Linked DNA regions of Homo sapiens: region 1 is linked to region 2. The links are contacts of gene promoters, found by promoter capture Hi-C in human tissues and cell types (Jung and others, 2019). All regions are on one chromosome and are shown on one strand. The core of a region is centred on a gene start or on the middle of the fragment in contact, and the rest is flanking DNA. Distances in the headings are between cores, read along the strand shown. Region 1 has its middle 9.6 kb from the start of TSPAN15. Region 2 holds the start of NEUROG3 (neurogenin 3).

Region 1 (3,101 bases), core at 582-3,081, 130 kb after region 2:
ATGGAATTTGGCAAGTGAGGAAACTGAAGTTCAGAGAAGTAAACTGATTTTTCTCCATTAAGAAGTTAAAGTGGGCCAGGCACGGTGGCTCATGTCTGTAATCCCGGCACTTTGGGAGGCCGAGGCAGGCGGATCAGGAGATTGAGACCATCCTGGATAACACAGTGAAACCCCATCTCTACTAAAAATACAAAAAATTAGCTGGGCATGGTGGTGGGTGCCTATAGTCCCAACTACTCAGGAGGCTGAGGCAGGAGAATCGCTTGAACCCAGGAAGCAGAGGTTGCAGTGAGCTAAGATCGCTCCACTGCACTCCAGCCTGGGCAACAGAGCGAGACTCCATCTCAAAAAAAAAAAAAAAAAAAGAAGTTAAAGTGCCCCCTGACCCAGCAAGCAATGTGCTTTTTACTCCAATGCAGTTGTAGCCCCAGCTATGTTAGAATAAAATCATTTAACTAAGTGGTTAAAAAGCAAATTGGAACAATACACTCAGCTCAAATATTGGCAGTTCAATACTGGTTGGAGTTGAAACTTTACATGGAGAGGCAGGTTACTGCAAAATAGTAGTTCCAAGAGATTTTAAGTGTTTGTTTGTTTGTTTTTTAAAAAAGGATCCATTAAATAAGTCTGGGAAATACTGCAGGACTTCTTCATAGCCTTTAATGAGAACGGATGCAGTATTGTGTGTCTCTAAGAGGAAAGAAGGATGTGTAGCCTCTCTCAACTGTATTTGAGGACACAACATTTTCCCCAGACACCAGCTATTAACATCTCAAGGAACTAGCATATCTGGAAATGTACTTCGGGAAATGCTATCCCATGGCACTAGTTCCTAATTCTTTTGAAGTTGAAAGCAACCTCCTCAAAGTTTTATGCTCTATACTTAAGAGGAAAATTAAAGACAACAGTGATTATTTATGTTTTGTGCTTGACTTTGCAAATTACACAACTTATTCTGCAATGATTGTCAAACAACCAGACTAGGCTATGATCACACCGCTTAGGGTCCTGCATGGGGTGATGGGCACACTTTAGTGACTTTGGGCCCGAGGGGATTTGGGACAACAGCCTCCAAGGACATGCAAAATGCTCATTACTCAGAAGGGCCTGGGTCACCCCAGCGGCTTCTTGTTTTGGAAATCCCTCAGAGAGCTGCCTCTAAAAGCCCTGCTCCTTTTGGCTTCCTTTCTGCAGCCCCACCACTGCCCCCACAGAAGGCCGACTGCCCAGATCCTCTTCCATGCATCCCTAGGCCCATTCCTACCTTTGGTTACTGAACAGCCGTCCTTGCAGCCCCCACCCCAGGACTCCTGTCCTTCCTCCTGTCCCCTGCTCTCCCTGCTGAAAGGCTGCTCCTGACTACCAGCTGGGGAGAGTGGATGGCCTCATGAAGACCTAACTGACCAACCATGGTGTCTATTACTGGGTGATTGGCACAACCATGCTGTGAGCCCTGTGCAGTCATTGAAGGTGATGTAGAAAGGTATTGAGTGTGGTGGGAACTGCTCTTCATACCCTGAGGTTCTGTCTGTGTGTTTGGGGGTGGAAGTGGGACATAAGTCAGGTTCTTTAAGTTCTGAGACTTCAGCAGGCTTTCTGGGCCTTTATCCCCATCAGTGGTCGGGGGAGCAGAGAGGTGATACCAGCAGGTGTATGAAGCCTATGGAACCCACAGAGGAACTATCTTCAGCCTTTAGAAGGGGACATCTGGGGAGTCCTGGGGACAATGGCCCAGGCCAGATGACAGAACCAAACTAGAGGGTCTTGAATCTGGCAAGTGGTTATATGCTACAGGAGATGGTCACTCCAGGCTGGGGTCCCAGGGCTGGGAATGCGATCAGGAGCTGGCAGAGCCTGCTAGAGTTCTACTGTGTCCAGTGAGCCTTTTTGAGGCGACAGGCTCTGATTGTGCACTGCCCCTGGGTAATGGCTGGGTGCATGAGTTGGGGAAGGCTAGCGGGTCACTAAGCATAGGGGTGCTGGGCCATTTCATGATGTAATATGATGTACCCTCCCAGTGGGGCGGGTATGTGGGGCAGCACACACAACATTAAGTTCAATATAATAATAACTATTTCCCAAAATATATTGTACCTCCATTTGTAAGGATGAGGTCACACCTCTATAAAAGAACATGGTGGAAGGGAGTTCTCCTCAAATAGAAACATGCAGATGTCAGGCCAGGTACGGTGGCTCACGCCTGTAATCCCAGCACTTTGGGAGGCCAAGGTGGGCAGATCATTTGAGGTCAGGAGCTCGAGACCAGCCTGGCCAACCTGATGAAACCCCGTCTCTGCTGAAAATACAAAAATTAGCCAGGCATGGTGGTGGGTGCCTGTAATCTCACTCTGGAGGCTGAGGCACAAGAATCACTTGTGTACCCGGGAGGCAGAGGTTGCAGTGGGTCAAGATCACACCACTGCACTCCAGCCTGGGCAACAGTGGAAGACTCTGTCTAAAAAAAAAAAAAAAAAAAAAAAAAATGCAGTCATTCTTCTCCCATATGACTAGTTTCCCAGCCTGGACCCCAGGTGCAACTGCGCATCTTTTGGGACTTGTTCATTTTTCGGGTGTGTGTGTGTGTGTGTGTGTGTGTGTGTGTGTGTGTGTGTATGAAACCCTCAGAGAGTAGAGGCAAAATCTTCCCTCACCCTCAGAGGGAAAGCCTCAGAGACCCCCAGGGCCACTTCCCTTCCTGACAGTGCAGGGCTGGCCCTGTACTTGGCATCCGCCGTTGTAAGGTATCTGTCTTCTGGCTGGCTTTCTCTGTCAAAATTTTTTGGATTGCTTGATAGTTTATTATACCTAAAAAAAAGCTTTTAATCTTTTTGGACCCACCTAAATCAGTGCTGTGAGGCAGGGTGTGTAGCTGTTTGTATGCCCAATTACAAATGAGAAAACAGGTTAGACTATTTCCCCAGGTCATTGAGGGAATTAGCAGTAAACCAAGACTGACAGTAGTGATGATTCAAGAGGTCCCAGAGCTGGGAGGATCTTTAGACATAATTGTGTCCAACATCCACATGAGTGGATAGAGAAACTCAAGCTAAAAGGGTGGTGTATTGCTCACGGCTATATATTTAAGTTTGTGTCCTCTTCTA
Region 2 (3,133 bases), core at 478-2,977:
CTCATCCCCTCACCCCACCCTACAGTCTCGAAGTCGGGTCCTGTCCCCTCCTGCAGTTTCCGGGAGACTCAGGATATCTGGACCTGCTAGAAAGAGAAGCCTTCCTCGCCTAAGGAGACTTAAACCGGGATACTTAAACCTCCCGCCTCGGCGTCTTCCTCCAGGCACGACCGGGTCAAGAGAGAGAAGCGGAAGCTGCAACCCCTCACTCTGAGTGACCGGAAGCAGAAGACCACGGGATGTCCCAGGCGGGGACAAGAGGAGGGGCTGGGGAAGAAAGGAGGGATGATGAGTTCAGAGTCCCTTTGGAAAGGTTTCCAGAGAGCGCTACCAGGGACAACCCAAGGGGCTGGGGAAGTCCCTGCCTTGTGCTCTCTGTGCGATGCCCGAGTGATGCAGAGGCAGGGGGCTGGAGCAGGTGACTGCTGGCAGCTGCTGTCTGTCTGTGATTGGACCGGAGGACTAAGGGGAGAAAAAGTTTATCAGCTTCTCCCAGTGCCTGCACGCTGTGGTAGTTCAAAAGACACGAGGGGGAGGGGCACAGCAGCTCTGCTTCCCAGCGCCTTGGGAGACTGAAGTGAAAGGAACGCTTGAGCCCAGGAGTTCGAGACCATCCTGGGCAACAAAGCAAGACCGCCCCTCACCCCATACAAAATAAAAATACAAATAAATTAGCCGGGCACAGTGGCGCATGCCTGTAGTCTCAGCTACTGGGAAGGCTGAAGTGGGAGGATAGCTTGAGCCCAGGAGATCAAGGCTGCAGTGAGCTGTGATTGCACCACTGCAGTCCAGCCTGGGCGACAGAAGGAGACCGTTTTTTGGTTTTGTTTGTTCGTTTAAAAAAAAAAAGAAGCAAGAGCTCACTGTGAACTCCTGGTTCCTTCCTCCCCTCCTCACACTTCCCAGAACTCTTCCTGTCACGGTTCCTGGCCAGAACGCTGGGATACTATCTACAAGCTGTAGTAGGCTTGTAGTAATGGAATGTCCGCTTGAGGGGTCCCCGCACAGCCAACCCCTGCCTCTGGAGTGGGATCTATGGGGGTGGGGTTCTAAGCGCCTCTGGGGAGTGTGAGGTAGCATCTCAGGGTGTGGCAGAGGCTCGGACACCCCCAAAAGGTCTGCGAATGGAAGGGACATAGGCAGGATCTCTCTCAGTGATGTCCCCTGTCTTCCAGGATGAAGAGAGGCAGTGAAACACCAGGAGAGCAGGGCGTCCTTTAGAATTCCTGGACCCTTCTCCAGGCTGCTAGTCAGGACAATGAGCTCGTGGTTGTCTTTGCCACTATCTTCCTGTGCGATTTCAGACAAGCCACCTCCCTCACTAAGCCTAAATTTCCCCATGTGTAACGTGCAGGCATTGTACCCTAGAGGCATCAAAGTCCCCTCCAGGACAGATGCTAAGGAAAGATAGGCTAGGAGCAAAGCCGTCTGAGGTGGCCTGACCAGAGCCACACGAGGCTCTTCTCACTGGGCGAGGCTCTTTGAGGAACCGAGAGTTGCTGGGACCCAGCCCGCCCTCGAGAGAGCAAACAGAGCGGCGCTCCCCTCCCCCGACCCCGGCCCTTTGTCCGGAATCCAGCTGTGCCCTGCGGGGGAGGAGCGGGCTCGCGTGGCGCGGCCCCAGGGCCCCGGCGCTGATTGGCCGGTGGCGCGGGCAGCAGCCGGGCAGGCACGCTCCTGGCCCGGGCGAAGCAGATAAAGCGTGCCAAGGGGCACACGACTTGCTGCTCAGGAAATCCCTGCGGTCTCACCGCCGCGCCTCGAGAGAGAGCGTGACAGAGGCCTCGGACCCCATTCTCTCTTCTTTTCTCCTTTGGGGCTGGGGCAACTCCCAGGCGGGGGCGCCTGCAGCTCAGCTGAACTTGGCGACCAGAAGCCCGCTGAGCTCCCCACGGCCCTCGCTGCTCATCGCTCTCTATTCTTTTGCGCCGGTAGAAAGGTAATATTTGGAGGCCTCCGAGGGACGGGCAGGGGAAAGAGGGATCCTCTGACCCAGCGGGGGCTGGGAGGATGGCTGTTTTTGTTTTTTCCCACCTAGCCTCGGAATCGCGGACTGCGCCCAGTGACGGACTCAAACTTACCCTTCCCTCTGACCCCGCCGTAGGATGACGCCTCAACCCTCGGGTGCGCCCACTGTCCAAGTGACCCGTGAGACGGAGCGGTCCTTCCCCAGAGCCTCGGAAGACGAAGTGACCTGCCCCACGTCCGCCCCGCCCAGCCCCACTCGCACACGGGGGAACTGCGCAGAGGCGGAAGAGGGAGGCTGCCGAGGGGCCCCGAGGAAGCTCCGGGCACGGCGCGGGGGACGCAGCCGGCCTAAGAGCGAGTTGGCACTGAGCAAGCAGCGACGGAGTCGGCGAAAGAAGGCCAACGACCGCGAGCGCAATCGAATGCACAACCTCAACTCGGCACTGGACGCCCTGCGCGGTGTCCTGCCCACCTTCCCAGACGACGCGAAGCTCACCAAGATCGAGACGCTGCGCTTCGCCCACAACTACATCTGGGCGCTGACTCAAACGCTGCGCATAGCGGACCACAGCTTGTACGCGCTGGAGCCGCCGGCGCCGCACTGCGGGGAGCTGGGCAGCCCAGGCGGTTCCCCCGGGGACTGGGGGTCCCTCTACTCCCCAGTCTCCCAGGCTGGCAGCCTGAGTCCCGCCGCGTCGCTGGAGGAGCGACCCGGGCTGCTGGGGGCCACCTTTTCCGCCTGCTTGAGCCCAGGCAGTCTGGCTTTCTCAGATTTTCTGTGAAAGGACCTGTCTGTCGCTGGGCTGTGGGTGCTAAGGGTAAGGGAGAGGGAGGGAGCCGGGAGCCGTAGAGGGTGGCCGACGGCGGCGGCCCTCAAAAGCACTTGTTCCTTCTGCTTCTCCCTGGCTGACCCCTGGCCGGCCCAGGCCTCCACGGGGGCGGCAGGCTGGGTTCATTCCCCGGCCCTCCGAGCCGCGCCAACGCACGCAACCCTTGCTGCTGCCCGCGCGAAGTGGGCATTGCAAAGTGCGCTCATTTTAGGCCTCCTCTCTGCCACCACCCCATAATCTCATTCAAAGAATACTAGAATGGTAGCACTACCCGGCCGGAGCCGCCCACCGTCTTGGGTCGCCCTACCCTCACTCAAGTCTGTCTGCCTCTCAGT

Evidence for each region. The method cuts DNA at HindIII sites, captures the fragments that hold promoters and counts their contacts. A contact is called where the count stands out against the background at its distance.
Region 1: a fragment that was not itself captured here is called in contact with the fragment with the promoter of NEUROG3 in region 2 in 1 of the 25 tissues and cell types used here (aorta).

The regions. Positions count from the first base shown.
Region 1 is chr10:69,440,270-69,443,370 of GRCh38, reverse strand. No RefSeq gene overlaps it. Among named protein-coding and RNA genes, the nearest start is that of TSPAN15, 9.6 kb to the left of the region's middle. The HindIII fragment of the contact is 5,755 bases long and covers 1-3,101 here.
Region 2 is chr10:69,572,016-69,575,148 of GRCh38, reverse strand. It overlaps NEUROG3 (neurogenin 3), which reads left to right and starts at 1,727. Exons shown (of 2, transcript NM_020999.4): 1 at 1,727-1,939; 2 at 2,105-3,133. The coding sequence starts at 2,106. The coding sequence ends at 2,750. It overlaps LOC101929021 (a long non-coding RNA gene), which reads right to left and starts at 2,192. Exons shown (of 4, transcript XR_946037.2): 1 at 2,082-2,192; 2 at 1-267. RefSeq lists a silencer at 1,457-1,676 and an enhancer at 2,934-3,133. The HindIII fragment of the contact is 13,443 bases long and covers 1-3,133 here.